2 separate regions of the Homo sapiens genome follow, and region 1 is linked to region 2. Evidence: promoter capture Hi-C in human tissues and cell types (Jung and others, 2019). All regions are on one chromosome and are shown on one strand. The core of a region is centred on a gene start or on the middle of the fragment in contact, and the rest is flanking DNA. Distances in the headings are between cores, read along the strand shown. Region 1 holds the start of APOBEC3B (apolipoprotein B mRNA editing enzyme catalytic subunit 3B). Region 2 holds the start of RPL3 (ribosomal protein L3).

Evidence for each region. Contacts are between HindIII fragments. The study calls those that stand out against the background at their distance.
Region 1: the fragment with the promoter of APOBEC3B here is called in contact with the fragment with the promoter of RPL3 in region 2 in 7 of the 25 tissues and cell types used here (H1 embryonic stem cells, heart right ventricle, lymphoblastoid cells and 4 more).

What each region holds. Positions count from the first base shown.
Region 1 is chr22:38,981,094-38,986,857 of GRCh38, forward strand. It overlaps APOBEC3B (apolipoprotein B mRNA editing enzyme catalytic subunit 3B), which reads left to right and starts at 1,254. Exons shown (of 8, transcript NM_004900.5): 1 at 1,254-1,377; 2 at 2,982-3,138; 3 at 4,719-4,998; 4 at 5,205-5,319. The coding sequence starts at 1,361. RefSeq lists silencers at 1,388-1,437, 5,402-5,597 and enhancers at 3,636-4,835, 3,878-4,167. The HindIII fragment of the contact is 18,696 bases long and covers 1-5,764 here.
Region 2 is chr22:39,316,736-39,321,983 of GRCh38, forward strand. RPL3 (ribosomal protein L3) reads right to left here and starts at 2,888. Exons shown (of 10, transcript NM_000967.4): 1 at 2,860-2,888; 2 at 1,665-1,857; 3 at 726-894; 4 at 1-106. The coding sequence starts at 2,862. SNORD43 (small nucleolar RNA, C/D box 43) reads right to left here and starts at 2,378; the gene lies at 2,317-2,378. It overlaps SNORD139 (small nucleolar RNA, C/D box 139), which reads right to left and starts at 161; the gene lies at 107-161. RefSeq lists enhancers at 1,877-2,766, 2,633-2,682, 2,767-3,656, 3,073-3,492, 3,657-4,545 and 3 more. The HindIII fragment of the contact is 19,716 bases long and covers 1,890-5,248 here.

The DNA.
Region 1 (5,764 bases), core at 4-2,503, 340 kb before region 2:
CAACAGAAAACTTCACCTTCCAGAGGAGCGCCTCTGCCTGGCTGTCCCACCGTCTGGGAAGTAAGGAGCGCCTCTGCCCAGCCCCCGCACCGTCTGGGAAGTGAGGAGCGCCTCTGGACGGCCCCCGCACCGTCTGGGAAGTGAGGAGCGCTTCTGGACGGCTCCCAGCAACCCCCCAGGTGTGAAGTGACAGCCCTGTGTGTGATCTTTCTGCCCTCCCCAAGTTTGCATTTTCGACAATAAAATTTACTTTTAAATTAAAAGATTTATACTGGGGAAGATTTAAAAAAAAAAAAAGAAAGAAAAGAAAACTCACCTTCCAAAAACAACCACTGGGAGTCCGCTTTGTGCAGAGGTTGGACAAGCTTCTGTGCAGGTAGGGGCGCTGCTGCTCCCCCTACCACCCACGCATCCTCCTCCCTGTCTGCATTCCCGTCGTCGTAGCCAGAGGAGTTCAGAGCCTCTACAGAGAGCACAACTTCTCCAGCTGGAACAAACTCCCCTTAAAGGAATCTATTTAGGAAGATTATTTCAATGTACATTCATTCCTCCAAAATATGCTTAGATGGACTTAAATAATCAGAAAGCTGTGTGTGTATGTGTTTCCCGTTTTCTTGGCCCACAAAGAACCCCTTGAGAGGTCCCTGGGCAGTGAGCCTGTTTATAGACACCCTTCTCCCTTCCTTGGTGTCGCAGACATCGCAGTCCCTCTGAGGGGCTGACCTGCCCCCCACCTTCTGGAAGCTGGGAGGTTGGAAGAGGGGACGCATGCCATGGACCCAGCACACAGCTGGGAACTCGAGGCACACCTAAGCCTTCCCTTGTGCTGTGCGGAGTCCACACTTCCTTCCCCACTGGAGTCTCAAAACCTCCCCTCACTCAACAGGGTGGTGCTGCTCAAAGCTCTGGGCACACATTAGGGCTGGGGAGGGGGTGGTGGAGAGGGGGCTCCAGCCTGCCCAACCACCAGGCAACGGGGCACCTGCCCCTCTCTCAGCTGGGTCTGGACCCGCCTCCCAGGCTCAGGCTGCAATGCCTTTCTCTTTCTCTTTGCAATTCCGTTGGGTCCTGCCCAGGACAGATAAAGACAGAGCAGCCTGTCTTTATTGGAGGTTCCTCTGCCAGCGGGAAGGGTCCGGGGAAAACCAGAGCCAGAGCCAGAGCCAGAGAAACATGAAGCACCCCGGGGCCTCCCACACCAATGCCTGAGCAGGAATGGGGAGGGGCCATGACTCATAAGGCCCTGGGAGGTCACTTTAAGGAGGGCTGTCCAACTGCAAGGACGCTGTAAGCAGGAAGTGAAACCACAGAGCTTCAAAAAAAGAGCGGGACAGGGACAAGCGTATCTAAGAGGCTGAACATGAATCCACAGATCAGGTACCGCTGCCCACTCTGCCTGCTGGGCCCCTCCTGCCCCTTCCTGCCTGGTGGTCCTGCTGGGCCTCAACCCTGGCCTCCCCCCGCCCCTGCCCCAGCCCTGGGCTCCCTCCCCTCTGGCTCCCCTGCCACACGAATCCCAGTCAGGCTCTTTGTCCTGCTGTGTGGTCACCCCACTGCTGCTTCTGAATGGGCTGCCTCCCCTACCTGCACCAGCCCAGGCCCCGTGCTGAGACTCTCCCTTAAAGTCATGCCCGGACTGGTGCTCCCCGCCCTGGGAGGGTGCTCCCTCTGTGTGCTTCCTGCCACTCCTGAGCTCAGAAACTGGGAGAATTGAACCAAAGGGTAATTGGAGCAATCAGGCATTTTTGTTCTCAGTGTTTTGATGAAATTTCTGTAAGAATTACTTTGCTTAAATACAAAGTCTTAGGAGAGGGTGCGGGGGTAGGAATGGTCTCTGAAGCACATGATAAATCGTGTCATCCAAGGATGACTCCATGGTGAGCAGATGTCCCCAGACAGGTTCCACTCCAAGGTCACTCTTCATCTTTTAGAACATGACCAGTGGTTGAGCGTGGTGGCTCACACTTGTAATCCCAACACTTTGGGAGGCCAAGGCGGGCGGATCATGAGGTCGGGAGTTTGAGACCAACCTGGCCCATATGGTGAAACCCCGTCTCTACTAAAAAACATACAAAAATTAGCCAGGCATGGTGGCGCATCTCTAGTCCCAGATACTCAGGAGGTTTAGGCAGGAGAATTGCTTGAACCTGGGAGGTGGAGGTTGCAGTGAGCTGAGATCATGCCACTGCACTCCAGCCTGGGCGACAGAGTGAGACTTCATCAAAAAAAAAAAGAAAGAACATGATCAGTAACATGGAATGTGAGAATGTGGGAAAAAAGTGCAATGATGAGGAGAAATGCTCTGATTTTAAAATTTAGTGAAAAGAGAGCCCAGTCCCCAACAGCTTTCTCCTACAGGATCCGTGATGCAGAGGCTGGACAGGGCTGGCCTGGAAAGGGGCCCCTGCTCCATCCGTCCCCAGCTCTGTGGCCTCGGCAGGTTACCCCGCCTCTCTGTGCCTCTGGCATCTCCTCTGTAAGATGGGAATGGCCCCTGCAGGCCTAGGGTAGCCTCACGTGAGCTCACACCCGCTCAGCACTTAGAAGAGTGGCCTGGGCCTCAGAATTCAGTTCTACCATGATTTTAAAATAATGTTAACACGCAGAGTGAAACATCAGGAAGGAATTGAGCTGAAAGGTTAAAAGCTATTTTTTAGGGGTGAAGGGTTTTATTCTCTTTTGCATTCTCCTAATGGGTTGGGGAGTGGGTTGGCAGAAATACTAGGAGGGTGGGGAATGTACCCCTGGAAAGGCCAGAGTTGGACCCGAGCTGGGAGAGATCACCCCAGCCCGCCTGCCAGCATCCCCTCCTCTTCCTCTCCCCTCAGTCTTCCTGCCTGGGAAGGCAGCAGAAATTCTCAGGGCTGTGGAGGGGTCGGGGAGGCCCAGGGCCATCCTGGGAGCTGTGTTCAGTGGACATGAGCCCCGAGGACTCCCGGGAGGGCTCCCTGCATGGGCCGGTTTCTCTCTTGTGCCTTCAGAAATCCGATGGAGCGGATGTATCGAGACACATTCTACGACAACTTTGAAAACGAACCCATCCTCTATGGTCGGAGCTACACTTGGCTGTGCTATGAAGTGAAAATAAAGAGGGGCCGCTCAAATCTCCTTTGGGACACAGGGGTCTTTCGAGGCCAGGTACCACCCAAACTTCAATCGAATCACAGGCAGTGTTGCAGGAATTAGAGGACTGGAGAGACTGATATGGGTGAGACAGGAGGATTTATTTAGGTGCACTGGTTCAGCAGACTCACATCCAAAAAGGCTGAGCCCTTAACAAAGACAGACTGAGGTATTTATAAGCAAACTTACAGAAGCAGAACAAAGGCGATTAATCAAACAGTGACAGGTCACATAATCTATAGCATAACAGATGACTTAGCATAACTTGGGGCCTTCTATAGCTGGTGGCCTTGCAGCTACATCAAAAGGAAAACAGGAACTGGCTAAATACAGACATTTGTAAAATATAGTTATAATGGTTCTGGAAAGGAGAGACAGTAAAGGAATTTGTCTTTTTTTTAAAAAATTTTTTTAAAATTTTCTTCAACCTTGCCCTGGAGGGGTGTGGGGGTGGTGTCTGGAGCCCATTCCTTTGGCCTTGACTTTTCAGGCAGTGTTATAACTGTCGTTGGAGTGAGCTGGCTAGGCAGAGGAAAACTTGTTCTTCTTTTCTTTTTAACCCTTGCTACAGTAGGACCTAAGCAGCTGGAAATGCAGAAAACACAACAATAAGTAAAATGCCCAGCACTGGGCTCTCAATTGTGTATTTTTCCCACATTTCTTTTTTCTCTTTTTTTCCTTTTTTTTTTTTTTTTTTTTTTCCGAGATGGAGTCTCGCTCTGGCACCCAGGTTGGAGTGCAATTGCACAATCTTGGCTCACTACAACCTCCACCTCTCAGGTTCAAGTGATTCTTCGGCCTTAGCCTCCCGAATAGCTGGGATTACAGAAGGCTGCCACCACGCCCAGTTAATTTTTTCTATTTTTAGTTGAGACTGGGTTTCACCATGTTGGCCAGGCTGGGGAATTCCTGACCTCAGGTGAGTCACCTGCCTTGGCCTCCCAAAGTGCTGGGGTTACAAGCATGAGTCACCGCACCTGGCCACTTCCCACAGTTCTGTTTTTTTGTTTTGTTTTGTTTTGGTTTTTTTTTAAGACTGAGTTTCACTCTTTGTTGCCTGGGCTGGAGTGCAATGACTCACTCTCAACTTCCACCTGCCAGGTTCAAGTGATTCTCCTGCCTCAGCCTGTGAGCTGAACAGTCACATGAGGGTGAAGGTTGTTGCCACAAGCTCAGGGGATGCTCCAGACAGAGTGGCCTGGGATGTCGAGTCACAGCTGCTCCATGCCACGGGGACAAGAGGAAGCAGGAGTTTAGTCTGACACACTGCCCTTCCAGATAGAGGGCAAGAGACAGAAAGAGGGGCTGAAGTCACCCTTGAATAACCACAGCAGTGGCACCCACAAAGGTGCAGTCCCCACAGCCTCATAGCCTCTTCTAGGTGCCACCTCTTAAGGCCATTACAATAGCCATTAACACTGAACGTGAGCTTTGGAGCAGACAATCACTCAAACTAAACAGGGGGGATGGAGGAAAGGAGCTTCAATGGCAAGATCCCCTGGGCTCCTGTCCTGGCCCCTCCTCTCCCTGCCCCACCCCTGCACTCCTCCTGCTCCCCCTCTCAGAGCATCCCCTGCCCCCTGCTCCTCTCCCAGGTGTATTTCAAGCCTCAGTACCACGCAGAAATGTGCTTCCTCTCTTGGTTCTGTGGCAACCAGCTGCCTGCTTACAAGTGTTTCCAGATCACCTGGTTTGTATCCTGGACCCCCTGCCCGGACTGTGTGGCGAAGCTGGCCGAATTCCTGTCTGAGCACCCCAATGTCACCCTGACCATCTCTGCCGCCCGCCTCTACTACTACTGGGAAAGAGATTACCGAAGGGCGCTCTGCAGGCTGAGTCAGGCAGGAGCCCGCGTGACGATCATGGACTATGAAGGTGAGAGGTGGAGGGGTCAGGGGAGCGTGAGCGGGAGGAACAGCATGAAAGATGGATGGATCTGCAATGCCATGGCTGGGGGTGTCCCAGGGCAGCCTGCAGGGGTGGGACTGGCACTGACTGCAACTGACAGCCAGGAGACCAGGCCTGGGAGGACAGGCCAGGGTCAGGGGAGAGCCTGACTGCTTCCCGCTTCTTCATCTCAGAATTTGCATACTGCTGGGAAAACTTTGTGTACAATGAAGGTCAGCAATTCATGCCTTGGTACAAATTCGATGAAAATTATGCATTCCTGCACCGCACGCTAAAGGAGATTCTCAGGTGAGGGTCTCCCTCTGGCCTCATCATCTCTCTCCTCTCACCTGCTCATCCTCCTGAGGCCTCCGTTGGCCTGGCCCTCCCGCCCTCCCTCTTGACCCACTGCCTGCCCTCATGGTCACACCACCTTCCCTTAACTCCTGGTGCTCCCTCCACACTGCCTCCTCCCTGCTTTCCTGGGCCCTTCCTGTGAGTAAGAGGCCCCTTCTGCCTCTAAGGCACCTGGGTCTTGGACTAGAGGAACAAACAGCAAGACAGGGTGGCCTGGGACACCAGCCGCTGCCCTTCTGTGACATGGGGACAAGAGGAGGCAAGAGCTCAGCCTTCCAGGGAACAACTCTGGGCAGGAGATGTGGAAGGAAGGAGCTCAGTGTGGGGGCACCCATGGCATCCTGGGGGGACATCTGAGGGCCACCCCCACCCGCTATTCCTCCCTCCAATGGTGGCC
Region 2 (5,248 bases), core at 1,638-4,137:
GCAGTACTTCTTCATGCTGCTGAAGTCCTTCTCCAGCTGCTTCTTGCCATCCTCATCCTGCCATTTCTTGCAGTACTTGGTAAAGGCCTTCTTCTTAGATTTATGCCTTCAGGAGCAGAGCAGAGTTGGGGAGGGGACCAGGTGCAGGCCTTCATCACCCCTCCGAGGGGTGAGCGGAAGGCACACTGGCACCGCGTGGGGATGGAGCTCATTGCCGGCTTCTAAGGAGCCTTTTCCACCAGCAAGCGGAGCCTGGATGGAGCTCATCGGGCAGAGCCGAGCGGAGCTGAGCAGAGGTCCACAAGGTTAATTTAAGTTACACGCATTCAAACAAAATTCTTGCTCCGGGACAAACCTTTCTGCCCTGGGGAAGCCCACTCAGTGATGAAGGAAATGGGACATTCCACCCAGGGCCAGAGGCCCTTGCCACCCCTATAGGGGTTTAATTATTCTGCTACCTCTCCTGGTTTCTAGTTGGACTCCTCAACCAACTGGGTCCTCAGCCACCACCCACTAGCCTGGACTCAGAATGAGGGTGTTAGCTTCCGGCTGAAACCAGATGGCTGGCCAAGTCTGATCCCAGGTATTTTTCTGTTCGAGAGGCAAACTAAACCCAAGACAGCAGCTCCCTGCCTGCTACAGAGCTGAGAAACCATGCACACGCTGCTCCCTGCTCTCCAGCTCCCAAGCTCCCAAGCTAGGGACTGCATGGCCTCCTCCCTTACCAATTCTTATAGAAACGCCTCTTGCATTCATCACTGATGTGCTCAGCAAAGACAGTCTTGAAGGTCCGGAGGCCTCGAGGGGTTTCCACGTAGCCCACAATGCCCACAACCACCATGGGTGGTGTCTCTACAATGGTCACAGCCTCCACCACCTCCTTCTTGTTCACCTCTGCAAAAAAAAAGCAGTAGTCAGACTTGGCAGGAGCCCAAGCAAGGGGTGTAATGTTTTCTAGGAAAATGCAAAGTGCCCATTTAGGCCGGAAGGGCAACTGGGCCCCACACCTGCAGTACGGACTCACAGGGCTGTCCTTACTGCCTATCTCTCATTCAAAGCACATTTATGTTATTCAAACAAAAAATATCAGGACCCTAGACAGCCAAATACCTGTCCAGCTTCAATTCTCTTCTACAGAAACCTCTGGAGGCAGACAAGATTGCTATTTATCTGGAAAATTCAGTGCCCTAACAATAGCTCTGAGCTCAGAGATTAGTCAGTATCAACTGCCTAACATTAATGTCTCCATGGCTCAGCAACCAGTGCTGTTAGACATCTCTAAGTAGAACACACACAGGTAAGTGGCCATTATTCAAGCTTTCAGGTGAAAAAAACATGAATGAGGCAGTTCTTATGCCAGCCTCAGCAGCTCCAACCCCCCACACTAGTGTTAACTTCTCTTTGCTAAGGTTCCTGGCAAATTTACTATGCTCTGAAATCAATACCCCACACCGCACCTAAAGCAAACAGTGCTGACCATCTGTAGCCTTGGAATATTAGTTTTCAAGTTAAGCATTCCCATTCTGCTGTCGCAGCAGTTCTGACAACGTGTAACTCCTGCTTAAAAAAAAAAGTCTGCCCTCTGCTAACAGCTTGACTCCATCTCTACAATTTCCCTCCCCCTCCACTCCTATTCCCCCAACTTTTAGGATGTCTGTACATACTGGATCCCGGCCTGTCGACTTCCCGCACGATGTGAGTCATGCCAGCCTTGTATCCCAGGAAGGCTGTGAGGTGGACCGGCTTGGACGGGTCATCCTTAGGGAAGCTCTTCACCTTCCCACGATGCCTGCTGCTGCGCTTCCGAGGCAGGAAGCCGAGGGACCCATGTCTGGGAGCGGAGAACTTTCTGTGAGACTAGGTGGGAAAAAAATCACCGTCAGCACCCAAACCAAAGCAGTGCCCCCTTCTCTAGTTCCCAGCTGCTTAAGTTCCAAATCTCAGCAATACTGAAGAATCCTGACCAGACACCCAGCAAGCCGAATAAAAAGGTCATTATCTCTTCCAGGCTCGCACGTGTCAAGAATGCTTTTGTATTCGACAAAATTTAAGCTGAATCTTATTTCAAATCCTCTCAACCTGTAAGAAAACGACCCATTTTTTTTATCTAACCACACAAAAATACACTAAGTAGTGGCACTAAAAACTGCTTAACAGGCAGCTTTATATGCCAATTAGCAAGGTTTTGACCGCTAAAGAAAGGGACTCCCGGGACAAACGCTGGGTAGCAGCTAGCAATGTTAAGCTATAGGCTGCCTCCGGTGCCCGGACACTAATTACACTGATACACACAGGCCAAAGAACTCCGCAGAGCCAAATCAGAACGTGACAATCAGCACACAGTTTCTGTCCGCCCGTCAATAAGTTCATCATCTGTGGTTTCTGCGAGCTCCAGAGGCCTTCGGAGTGCACCAGCGGCCCCAGATATTCAGGAGGACTCCACAACACTCCCCTCCCCCAAGCTTCTTTACCTCCCAATGAGAACGGCGCCGAGAACCTCCACCCAAGGTCCTTCTACCCAGACAAGCAGGTTATGGGCCCTAATCCCAACTAATGATAGAATTGGTGAGGTCGAAACTTAGAAATGACTCATGGCTTTAAAAACGCCGGGCCTCCAAGCCTGCTCCCACCCTTACGGCCTCTCTCTGGCCGACCTGCAGGCCCAAAGCCAGTCCTCCAAGCGCTCTTCACAAGCCTCTCGACTTTCCAGAAAATAGGCCAGACTGAAGTCCCCGCTGGGTCGCCCGTGCCCCTAAAGCAAACCCCCGGCGCCGGCCAAGACGGGATGGCGGCGATGCGTCGCGGATTCAGCCGTGCCGACGCCGGTGACAATGAAACGGCCGCCATTACAACACATACCATCACGCCATCAAATCCCGCCGGTAGAGGCCGGTCGGCCTTACGGGTCCGCTATATAAAGCCAAATCTGGCCCCGCCCCTTCCGGCGTGCGAGCGCGCCCCCGCGGCAGACGACAGGTCGGGGGCACGTACCGAGCGCCATTTCCACGCACGCTCTTCCGCTCCTAGCTTTCGTTCAGAAGTTGACGTCAGCTTCGGAGACAGAAATTACACACTCTACGGCGAGGGGTCGGGTTCAAACTTAGTGAAAAGCCGCGGAGAGGTGGGCTAAGGGTGGGTGAGCCACAAATCTACGGCGTCCGGCAGCAGCCAAATTTGATAATAACGAAGAAAAATGGCTGCGTCGCTTCTCCTCCTGTGATATGCAGCTATCTCTGGAATTAGCGAAGAAAGACTGAAACTCTCGTTTCCTGGCTCCCACGCTGGTTTTGCGGCGACACCAATTTACCTTTAATACCTTTAATCTCGGGCATCCCTCCCTCAAGCCCTATCTCTGCCATTTCTCCCATGCTAATGCAGTGGCCCGCGCTTGATTCTGAGGGTCAGGAGCGTCCCAAGCCTGCGGAACGGCCTCACGACCTCTGGTCATGCCGAGTCCAGCTGCTCAGCCTCCCGGAGCCCCACGCCTTCCAGACCTATGCATCAGCGAGGGCTTTCGCTGATCTCTGCCTAGGCTCCAGGGTGACTCGGATCCTGACCGATTCCCTGCTTCCAGGCTGGTCCCTTACAAATCTCTTTTTTGAGACGGAGTCTCGCTCTGTCGCAGTGGCGCGATCTCAGCTCACTGCAAGCTCCGCCTACCGGTTCCCAGTTCAAGCAGTTCTCCTGCCTCAGCCTCCCGAGTAGCTGGGATTACAGGAATGCGCCACCATGCCTGGCTAATTTTTTTTTTTTTTTTTTTTGTATTTTTAGTGGAGACGGTGTTTCACCATGTTGGCCAGGCTGGTCTTGAACTCCTGATCTCGTGATCCGCCCGCCTCGGCCTCCCAAAGTGCTGGGATTACAGGTGTGAGCCACCGCGCCTGGCCCCCTACAAATCTTTCTAAGAATCAAGTATCTCGTTACTTTCCATGGCCGCCTCGTTGTTTCCTCGGAATTAAGCATCAACTTCAGCGGCCACCAAAGACGCTCCCCTAACCGTCTACTTCAGCCTCATGGCTGCGCCAGAGCACACGCTCTCATATCACCTGCTTCCTCTGTCCCACCCTGTCATCTTCTTTAATTCTGGGCCTGGCCTTTGCTCCCACCGTCGTTTGAAAAGCATTCTCTCGGCCAGGCGCGGTGGCTCACGCCTGTAATCCCAACACTTTGGGAGACCGAGGCGGGCGGATCACCTGAGGTCAGGAGTTCGAAACCAGCCTGGGCAACATGGCGAAACCCCGTCTCTATTAAAAATACAAAAATTAGCGGGGCACGATGGTGTGCGTCTGTAATCCCAGCTACTTGGGAGGCTGAGGCGGGAGAATCGTTTGAACCCGGGAGACGGAGTTTGCAGTGAGCTGAGATTGCGCCAGTGCAATCCAGCTCAAAAAAAAAAAAATTATCTCAATCCTCACACCATTCCCGAAGGACATAAGTGATAGATCTTCAATCCATTATTAGAAATCCTGGGGGCCACATATGTTTCAAAATTGAGCATTTTTTGATTTTTAGAAAGGTAATATGGTGCACATACTGTATATTATGTAATACAGCACTTTTTAAAGAAAAACAATATTCCGTAAGGAAACATGAATATTCACATGGAGTGGGACAAATATAAATAGACTCACATCAGTTCAAGGCTGACTTTGCTGCTCAAAAAATGCATCAGTTTACTTTTTGCTGCCAAATAATTTAAGAAGGTTTTTAAAATTTCAGGATACAGGCCAGGCACGGTGGCTCACACCTGTAATCCCATCACTTATGGGAGGCTGAGGAGGGTGGATCACTGGAGGTCAGGAACTTGAGACCAGCCTGGCCAACACAGTGAAACCCCGTTTCTCCTAAAAATACAAAAATTAGCAGTTGTTGTGCACGCCTGTAGTCCCAGCTACCCCGGAGGCCGAGGGAGGAGAATTGCTTGAATCCGGGAGGCAGAGGTTGCAGTGAGCCGAGATCGTGCCATTGTGCTCCAGCCTGGGTGACCAATCAGGATTCTGTCTCAAAAAAAAAAAAAAAAAAAAAACAAGACCAGGCGTGGTGGCTCATGCCTGTAATCCCAGCACTTTGGGAGGCCAAGGTGGGTGGTTCACCTGAGATCAGGAGTTCGAGACCAGCCTGGCCAACATGGTGAAACCCCGTCTCTACTAAAAATACAAAAATTAGCCAGGGGTGGTGGTGGGCGCCTGTAATCGCAGCTACTTGGGAGGCTGAGGCAAGAGAATTGCTTGAACCTGGGAGATGGAGG